2 separate regions of the Homo sapiens genome follow, and region 2 is linked to region 1. The links are contacts of gene promoters, found by promoter capture Hi-C in human tissues and cell types (Jung and others, 2019). All regions are on one chromosome and are shown on one strand. The core of a region is centred on a gene start or on the middle of the fragment in contact, and the rest is flanking DNA. Distances in the headings are between cores, read along the strand shown. Region 1 holds the start of SH3GL2 (SH3 domain containing GRB2 like 2, endophilin A1). Region 2 overlaps LOC105375983 (a long non-coding RNA gene).

Region 1 (5,035 bases), core at 2,025-4,524:
GTATTTGTTCCTCTGTATTCAAGTAACAATAAATGTCCCTAGGAAGATTTTTTTTTCAAATTACTCGTCTGGAAACCCCTTGGGATTCAAGGTCCAGCCCATACATGCCTCGATACTTCCCCTTCTCAATCCCAGCATCTCCTACCATGATGCTTGCTAGTAGGAGGAGCTTAACAAATTTCTTCAAAGGTGACATCTCAAAGGTCTTTACAGGCATAAATTGTGGCTTCAATACAAATGCTGGGTTTAGATGATGTATCAGTCTGTTTTTACGCTGCTGATAAAGACATACCTGAGACTGGGCAATTTACAAAAGAAAGAAGTTTAATTGGATTCACAGTTCCACCTGGCTGGGGAGGCCTGACAATCATGGCAGAAGGTGAAAGGCACCTCTCACATGGCAGCAGACAAGAGAAGAGAGCTTGTGCAGGGAAACTCCTGTTTGTTTTTTTTTTCTTTTATTATTATATTTTAAGTTTTAGGGTACATGTGCACATTGTGCAGGTTAGTTACATATGTATACATGTGCCATGCTGGTGTGCTGCACCCATTAACTCGTCATCTAGCATTAGGTTTATCTCCCAGTGCTATCCCTCCCCCCTCCCCCCACCCCACAACAGTCCCCAGAGTGTGATGTTCCCCTTCCTGTGTCCATGTGATCTCATTGTTCAATTCCCACCTATGAGTGAGAATATGCGGTGTTTGGTTTTTTGTTCTTGCGATAGTTTACTGAGAATGATGATTTCCAATTTCATCCATGTCCCTACAAAGGACATGAACTCATCATTTTTTATGGCTGCATAGTATTCCATGGTGTATATGTGCCACATTTTCTTAATCCAGTCTATCATTGTTGGACATTTGGGTTGGTTCCAAGTCTTTGCTATTGTGAATAATGCCGCAATAAACATACGTGTGCATGTGTCTTTATAGCAGCATGATTTATAGTCCTTTGGGTATATACCCAGTAATGGGATGGCTGGGTCAAATGGTATTTCTAGTTCTAGATCCCTGAGGAATCGCCACACTGACTTCCACAATGGTTGAACTAGACACTCCTGTTTTTAAAACCATCAGATCTTGTAAGACTCATTCACTACCACGAGAACAGTGTAGGAAAGACCCACCCCCATAATTCAATCACTCCCACTGGGTTCCTCCCACGACACGTGGGAATTGTGAGAGTTACAATTCAAGATGAGATTTGGGTGGGGACACAGCCAAACCATATAAGATGAGGTGCAGAGGATGCCTGGGCGACTAAATCAATGGTTTCCAAAGGATTTAATGTAATGCCCTTAAGTAGTTTTTTTCTCCCAAGGTAGTTTCTTTGAAGTTAAGCAGCATGAGACTTCCAGGTTGGTGGATGAAGAACCAGGGAAAGATAGAAACTGCCTTTTTTATAATGTAGGGCTCAGTTAAGTATTCAAAGTTCCAAGGAGGCAATTCAGGCCCCCATTTCACACCTTTCACTGTTAGAGAGCAGAGCTCCTATCCATCCCAGGCCCTTCCACTTTGTAGATCAATTGCTCTATCTTTTGGCAGCTTCAACAAAGCCCTGTCTTATGAAAATGCTTTATTGTTCAGATCAGGGACCTGGTAGTAAAAATTAACTATAAAATACTTTTTTTTCTATTATGCAAGTAATGGGTAGCCTTTTTAAAAATTGGAAACATAGAGAAAAAAGTTTATTCCTAACAACCGGAGCCTCAGTGGATTAAAATTACTCAGGTTTCTCACTGATGCTACATGCCCATTGAACGTCAGGTGGGGACTCTGCACTGCTTTAGTCTCACTCTGGATACTGGCTGACAGACCACAGCTTTCTAGAATATTGCGGCCGAGGAAAAGAAAGCTTTGCGGCATCTCATACATCTCATATTGCTGCTGCAGAAGTGACAGTCACTTTTCCTCTTAAACCTCTAGTCAAAACTTGTAACCATGCCTCCACTTAACAAGAGGTTTGGAAAGTGCAATTCTGCCATGTAGGGAAAGGTATATGAACAGTGGTAAGGGCTACCACACTGGAGAATAGCTCCTTTCATCTGCCTCCCTTTGCAGCCTGCGTCCCTAGTCCATGCGCTCTACTGCTCCAGTGCCCACCACTGCTTGACTCTGCCTTTGTGTGTGTCAGTTCACATTATCAAGAAGGACCATGACTGGTAGCTCTACGGATGGAGGACCCTTTTGTAGCAGGTGTTCACCCTGTGCCCAAGCCGCAGTGCCTAGAAGAGTGGGGATGGGTCTGTGGCTCCTATCAGGCTGCAGGAGTTGCGGAGACAGAAAAAGTATTTCTAGGACTCCCATTTGGCCTTGCAGTCTCTACACATCCTTGGCAATTTCTCCCATCTTGGCTTCTCCTTCTTATCACTTTGGTCCACATACGGGGACAGCGTCTAAGTTCTTTCTGACCACCTCCTCAGTCCTAGAAAAACCAGACTTGGTTAAGTACCAGAGCACAGAAGGCATTTAGTGCTGCTCTGCTCCCAAGTCATCTATTAGTTTCACTTTAGCCAGCCATACCTCCTTGGTTACATATGAAGCATCTGTATATAACTTAGTATCATGCTTTTTCACATTATATTTTGATTTTTATCGGACCGGAAACCCTAAATCCACAAGCATAACAACAAGATCACATTTGGGCTTTTTCATTTCTGTAACCAGAGGATTGAACGCTAGTTTTGTAGTAAGACTTCAATTCTATTTATCCGTCCAGGCTTAAGGGTTCCTGTTCTTCTTTTTAAGTCATTAAATTGTATCAGACAAGGGGGAAAACGCGTGTGTGACTTTCCCTAAGGTAAGATGGGCTTAAGGGATATTGAAACCAGGGCAGAGAAATGTTTTCTGTGACCCACCAGTCAGGGCAAGGCATAGAAGGAGCAATGACTTATTCATTAGCCCAGATAGAAGGCCAGTCTTTTTCAGGCTGCGGCGCAGAGACGCCAGGCTCAAAGGGCAGGAGGGCCGTCTGCAGGCAGCGCCGCCGCGGCTACCTGGAAGCCCAGCAAGTCACCTGAGTCCTGCGGGTGCCTGGGCTGCCAATCTGCAGCGACCCGTCCGCAGCCCCCGGGGGCAGGAACACCAACCCCGGGACAGGAGGACGTCCTCGGCCCGCTGACTAGGGATCCGCCAGCGGGTGCCGCTGAGCCACATCCCCGCAGTTGGCGCCAGCATCCAGGTACCGCGCGCCACAGCACCTGCCTGGGCGTTCCCGCGCTTGGGGCGGGGCTTCCCGCGTCCCCTTTAAGAGGCCGCATCACCCGCCCTTGACGTCAGAGTGTTTCTCCGCAAGAGCCCGTGTCCCGCTAGGCTCCGCGCCCTCGCGCCCATAGCCCCGGCGGCGGCACGACCAGAGGCGGCCAGGGGAGCGCGCCGCCCCGCTCGGCCCTCCAGTCCCCCTCCGCCTCCTCCCTCCCGCACAGCAGCCGCCAGCGCGGCCTCCTGCACCATGTCGGTGGCCGGCCTCAAGAAGCAGTTCCATAAAGCCACTCAGGTAAGGCGCGCGGCAGGTGCGTCCCGGGGCAGTCCGGGGCGAAGCTGCGAGGGGCGCGCTCGGCGCTGGCCGTCCGGCGGCAGCTTGGGGAGTTCGGCACCGAGCCTCGCCCGCGCCGGCCGCGCCCCGCCTCGCAAGCCAAGGCGGCGGCTCGGGGCATCCCCGGTCTGGGCGTCCACCCTCGGTCCCCCGCCCCCGGCTTGGTGCGCGCTGCCTTCCCGCGGGTCCCCGGCGTCCTGCCTGGTAGCGCTGCTCGCCGCCCCCGCATCATCTCGCGCCCGTGCTGCAGGAAGGGGACCGCGGCTGCACTGCTGCCGCGGCGCGCAGGTGCCTTGGCGGCGCGGTGGGAGATTATGTAAAGTCGCCTCTTCACGGGTGACCTTGCGGAGTCGGTGCACCCGGCTTTCCCGGGATGTGTTGGCATGAGCGGTGGCCGCACTGGGGGTGGCGGGGCGGAGGCCGGCGGTTTGCGCTCCTCTCCCTTACCCTGTTGTCAGAACCCTCCTTCCCCGCCGCCCGCAGGCTCCAGGGGAATGGAAGGCTGGGGTCTTCCTTTAGGGACCCGCATACATTAACTTTTACCTGGAGAACTCGGTCGTGAAACTCCTTTGAGGCCAGGGCATGACAAACAGTCTGCGGGTCTTAAATATTTCCCTAAAACAACCAAATTGTTGAAGACTTAAAATCATCATGTATTTTAAATTGTTTTTAATAAATCTTTGGCATCTTGGATGTGCCCATTTTTCTTTATGGGGTTAATAAGCTGTGACTGTAATAAAACTGATTAATTTAGATTCTAATAATTAAAATCATTGGACTCAAAGAATTTTACATAGGGGCAAGTAAGCGAATACTTACGCTGTGACCTATTTCTTACATAATGTGTGTGATTACTACTTTTTTATCCTTCTGAAATAGGTTCAAATTTATGGGATCTTTAAGGATTTTGATGACTTACCGCGAAATGTTTTTCATGATTTGGTGTTAAATAGTTTTTCATAGGTTAGCCTTAATTAACGAGCTTTCTCATAATTTCTCGGAAGTAGTGAGGTTTTTCCTAGGCTACCACAGTGGCAGCCTTGTTATGAACCACATCCAGAAAAGGTGAGGGTTGTGTTTTACAGAACCTTGGTTAACTTAGGGTGACAGATGCAGCATGTAATTCCCGTCGTGTGTGTGTTTGCACGCATCTGCATCATCTTCATCACACATTCTTGCCTTTATAGAATCAATTATACCTGTCAACTTAGGAAATCAAGAAAAGTAAGACTATTTCTGTAAAAATGTTTCTTAATGTAATTATTTTTGCTTTTCTATTATAATTGGAGTTATCTGTGACCTCTCTGCCAGACATGTTTATGAAAGTAAGTGATTTGTTTGTTGATGTAGTTTGGAAGGCTTCTAATAACTTTATACTGCAAGTTCTTTCAGGTTTACAGAACCAAGCATATGTGCTGCCCAGGAATTCTGTGGCAGGACTTCTTCGATATTACTAACCTTTTTGATTGCTCTACTGGTCACTTCTCTATAGCATATCTC
Region 2 (5,364 bases), core at 1,751-4,250, 530 kb before region 1:
TTTTTTTCTTTCTTTTTTTTTTTTTTTTTTTTTTGAAACGGAGTCTCGAAAATCTGTCTCTCAGGCTAAAGTGCAGTGGCGCAATCTTGGCTCACTGCAACCTCCGCCTCCTGCGTTTAAGTGATTCTCATACCTCAGCCTCCCAAGTAGCTGGGATTACAGGCGCCCGCCACCACACCCTGCTAATTTTTGTTTTTTTTTTTTTAGTAGAGACAGGGTTTCACCATATTGGCCAGGCTGGTCTTGAACTCCTGACCTCAGGTGATCTGCCTGCCTTGGCCTTCCAAAGTGTCGGGATTACAGGCGTGAGCCACCACGCCCAGTCTTGAAAAGCTTATTTTTCAATGGACCCTTCCATTTCTCATCTTCTTCAAACCGTCCCCCTCTCTCTACATGTCTCTATGCAGGATTCCTGCAGGTGATCCAACAGAGAAGCCGATTATGAGAAGCAGGAGATGCCTGTTAGGGAGCCACAGTGAGGTGCTGTGGTTGCACCAGTGTGAACCTGGTCAATGTCTGTGAGCACATGGTCATCACAACATTGGCTGGAGGAGACAGTGGAGTTGAGAGGATCTGAGGGGGACACAAAAGAGGTGCCTGACTCAGTGAGATTTCCCCAATGGAGCAGGGGAGAGAGATGAGGCCCAAGACCTGCAAACACCTGGGAGGCTGAAGAAAGACAGAAGGGGCTGAGAAGAGACCAATGAAAAGGCATCAGAGAGGTAGGAGGAAAATACTACAGTAGTAAATATAACCGCTAAAGCCGTAACAACAACTCTAGCAGTAGTGGGGATAGTCATAGCAGTGAGCTCTGTATAAACGCGGACTCTGCGGCAGGCACTGTTCTAAGGTCTTTATATATATTAACTCGTTTAATACAGCTGGATGAGGTGGCCACAGTTACTCTCCCCAGTTGCACATGGAGTCACCAAGTTACTGAGACATTAAGGTTCACAACTCAGGATTTGAGTCCACAGCCTGTACTCCTCACCACATCACCCTGTGGACCCAAAGAATATAAGGTACTCCTGAGGCAAGGGAGGATGAGAATCACAAGGAGGGAACAGGCAAGGGCATCTCTGCTTCCTCGGGAGAGAATGAAGACTAAAGAAAGGAGGAAAGGCCATGTGATGTGTGAACAAGAAGAAATCAGTCACTTTGGAAAATGTAGTGTGATTTGGGTGGTGAGAACTCAGACTGCAAAGGGCTGAGGACAGCGTGGGGCCCAGGTCAATTTTTGAAGTCCTTTGCTAGTGAAGAGAAGTCAGTGTCTTATTTTAGTGTAATACTCTCAAGTCCTGGTTTCTTAATGGAAGAGAGGGATCCTGTATCTGGGGAAGGACAGTGTCATCAGCAGGACCTTAAATGTTACTATGCTTGAGTTGGCACAGTTCTCTGAGGTCTAGAAAATGTCCTCAGGTGGTGTCTCTCATGCTAAATGCCATTTAAAAAAGTGAAGAAGCAACACAGTGCTCATTAGAGACTGAGGAAGCCTTTGAAGACAGGAATAATGAGCATATTTTTACTCTCATTCTTTGCCATTTCTGGTTTCCCACAAAATGGCAGAAAGGGACACGCTCTCTTGCCAACCTTCTACTTTCCCTCCTCCTGCCTCATTATCTGGGCCCAGTCATTATACTACATTTTCTGTGTGTTTGGATAGAAAAGCCAGCTCTTCAAACCATAACATTGGCAGCAATTTTCTTCCTACAGTTTGTAAAAATTAAATCACAAATCAAAAGAATATGAGCCAAACATGCCGCAGCCATTTGGAGTTACATAAAAGGGAAGCCATCAACACCTCCCTATCTTGGCTGATGAATGTATCTGATATTTCAGACTTATTTCTTGGTTCTTTCATGACCACAAGACCAAAACTAATCAGTCCAATTAGACAAACTTCCAGATTATAGCTCTGAAGTCAACTCAACAAGTAACATATCCAACAATATAATTTGCCAAGTGTAATTTGCAGGATGCAGGGGTGGGGTGGGGTCAGGGGGAGGCGGTTCCTGATTTATCACAGCAGCTAAAGCCATATTCCAGTCTGAATACAAAATAGACAAAGAAAGAGAAAGTTAGATTAGGGGCACTGAAACTACTGATCATCATGTTTTTCCGATATTAAAAAAAAAAAAAAAGAAAAGGAAAAGAAAAGCTGAGGTTAAGAACACCATCCAGTAAAAGCCCTCAAAACAGTTACAAAAATATGTAAAACACATTCCAAAGGAATTAAATGTAAAAAAAAAATCAAACTCAAAGAGAACTAGAAGAATATATAGATATTTTTCTGATTATAATGGTAGGATGGTCTTTCCTAGCATGCAAAGAAAAAAAAGCCCATGAAAATTAAGAGATTTTACCACATGAATATTTAGTTTTTCTGTACCCCACAAAAACCACCATAAACAAAATCAGGCCTAAGACAAATATTTGTAACCCATATGCTAGAAAAATGATTTACATTCTCAGCTTTATTTTTAACTGATTTTATTGGGATATAATTTACCACACCATTCACCCATTTAAAATGGACAGTTAATGGTTTTTAGATATTCACATAATTGTTCAAACATTACCACAATTAAGTGTGTAATATTTTTATCGCTTCAAAAAGAAACTTTTGTACCCACTAAAAGTCACTCCCCGTTTTCTCCCAACCCCCTAGCCCTGGGGGGTTTCTACTTTCCATCTCTATATATTTGCCTAGTGAGAATATTTTATGTAAACGGAATCATACAAAAAATGCTCTTTTTGTGCCTGGCTTCTTTGATACTAGGAGGGAATATACAACTTTCCTGTAGAGTAATTTAGGCATATTCATAGTTTCAAAGTTATTTATAGTGGTTATCCAATAATTCTTATTTCAGGAATTTGTCTTAAGGAAATAAGAGATGTACACAATAATTTATGTACAAAGAGGTTAATAAAGCATTATTTGTAATAGAGAAAAATGGAAAGAATTCAAATGCTCAACAATAGCAAAACAGATAGATCCATATCCATAAAATGGAATGCTACACCATCATAGATAATTAATTGCTACAAATATGCAAGGTCATAAGAATATGCTCATAATATATTATTAAGTCTACCTACCTATTTGTCCATTCATCCTCAATATTTTATTGCTGGATAAGGAAATGTAAATCTGAGTGATTTGTTCTCTTCTTTATACCCCTTTGGTTTCTCCAATTTTAAAATTTAATTAACATGTATGACTTTTATAACAAAAAGCCATCATTAGAACAACTCACTGAATTTTAGAATCACCTCATCTAGCTCATTGTCTAACACTTTGGCATTCCTTGTATCAGTTAGATTCTCTAACTGACAGAAAACAGTTACATTATAGAAAGGCATGCAACTCAAACTGGCTTAAGCAAAAAAAGACAATTGATTGTCATGACTGAAAAATTCACTGGCAGTAATGGTTTCAGGCATAGCTGGATCCAGGGGCTAAAAGGTATCATCAGGAATCAATCTTCCTCTTTCAGCTCTTTGTTTTTGTTTTCCTCTATTTGGTTTTATTCTTAGATGGGCCTTTATTTTTTTAGGGTTGTTCCTAGTAGTTTAGAAACTACATAAGAGGGAAGAAATTTTTCCTTTAATAATTTTAGCAAAAGTCTCAGAATTTAATCTGACTGGACCAACTTGGGTCATGTGCTTATCCTGGAATCATTACTGTGGCGAAGTGGATAAGAAGACCTGAATAGCTCTCCACCCCCAAATTATCTGTTAATTCTTTTAGCCAGGGAACAGTTTCACGTTAATTTTATGAAGAGAGAGAGGTGAAAGAATGGTTCTCTGAAAGAAAATCAGTGTGCTATTGCCAGAAAAGAGAATGAGTGCTTTGCAGCCAAAAAAAAAAAAAAAAAAAGTCTTTAATTTCCCTGGTCTGTAATACATGGTCTCCCTGCATCTCCAGTGTCTGAAGCAGTTAGCTCCATTGAGTTCACTTGGGTTCATTTGAGTTCTTCCTTACACCAATCCAATATCTACCTCCTGCTAAGTCCACCTGATATGGTTTGGTTCTGTGTCCCCACCCAAATCTCATCTCAAATTGCAATCCCCACGTATCGGGGGAGGGATCTGGTGGGAGGTGGTTGGATCATGGGGGTGGTTCTCCCATGCTGTTCTCATGATAGTGAGGGAGTTCTCATGAGATCTGATGGTTTAAAAGTGTGCGCCTTTCTTTGCTGTCTCTCTCTTGCTGTCATTAAGATGTGCCTTGCTTTCCCTTTGCCTTCTGCCAGGATTGTAAGTTTCCTGAGGCCTTCCCAGCCATGCAGCACTGTGAGTCAATTAAACCTCTTTTCTTCATAAATTACCCAGTCTCAAGTAGTTCTTCATGGCAATGTGAAAACAGACTAATACACTACCCTCTGCCACTCTCAGTAATTTCTTTGGTCCATATGAATAAAAAAAGATGTATCCACCATCTCTTCTTGGAAATTAAACTGACAGTGGGTTTTGTTTGGCTTACACCCACCTGCAGGAGCTGATTACCACTCCTTAATAAATCTCTACTTCTAGTGAAGCTTCTTTAGTCCTCAAAGCAGACAGCCCTGTTGCGAAGTGGCCTGAGGCCCTGACCCTGCCGACAGTTGGAGGGAGATAAGAATGGGGAGCCCGTGAGATGATATAGTGTGGGAGTGGGATGAAGGTTTTGCATCTTGGGAAAGGAGGGAGTCTGTAGCCCGAGCTAAAGGCAGAGCAGGATCCTGGCCATTCTAGCTCAGGTTCTGGAGGAAATAGCCAGCAACATCTTCAGCAGGTAGAGGGGAAATGACAAGAAAAAGAAGCAAGCAGTGTCTGTGACCACCTCCCATCCCGATTCATTGTTACTCAAAGTATCATCTTCAGCCCAGCAGTGATCTCACCATGAACCTCTAATCAAAAAAGAAAGTTGTTTCTAAAAATCTTTAAGAGTAAACATTCCCATAAGCCTTTATTTATGCTTATGAGTAAGTGCTACGTATTGATAAATTCTAATTAAGTATTACTAAAATATGGTAAGAGAATGAGCTATTAAGGGAAAATACCCCACATTATTTTTGTTTGTTTTATTTTATTTTTTGGTTTGGGGTTTTGTGTAATTTTGGGATTTTTTTTTCTCCAGCTGTAGGCTAACCCAAGAAGAATAAAGCATCGGCTTCCCTGACATGCTGCTCCCCCCAAAACAGAGTGCCAATATGATTCCAAGGTTCTTAGCACACTGTATATTACCTCACTCCTCCTACAGGTAAGTAGAAGTTCAGGGCCATTGAAGAGATTAATAAGGGCTGTTGGGAGTTGGAAAAGTCAGAATGGACTGAACTAAAGTGAGAAGGCAGAGGTTGAGAAAGAGACAGTCTTGGGGAT

What was found. The method cuts DNA at HindIII sites, captures the fragments that hold promoters and counts their contacts. A contact is called where the count stands out against the background at its distance.
Region 2: a contact is called between a fragment that was not itself captured here and the fragment with the promoter of SH3GL2 in region 1, in 1 of the 25 tissues and cell types used here (hippocampus).

The regions. Positions count from the first base shown.
Region 1 is chr9:17,575,792-17,580,826 of GRCh38, forward strand. It overlaps SH3GL2 (SH3 domain containing GRB2 like 2, endophilin A1), which reads left to right and starts at 3,275. Exons shown (of 9, transcript NM_003026.5): 1 at 3,275-3,496. The coding sequence starts at 3,452. RefSeq lists a silencer at 2,087-2,285. The HindIII fragment of the contact is 4,711 bases long and covers 755-5,035 here.
Region 2 is chr9:17,043,797-17,049,160 of GRCh38, forward strand. LOC105375983 (a long non-coding RNA gene) reads left to right here. Exons shown (of 3, transcript XR_001746628.1): 3 at 5,123-5,364. Among named protein-coding and RNA genes, the nearest start is that of CNTLN, 89 kb to the right of the region's middle. The HindIII fragment of the contact is 5,698 bases long and covers 152-5,364 here.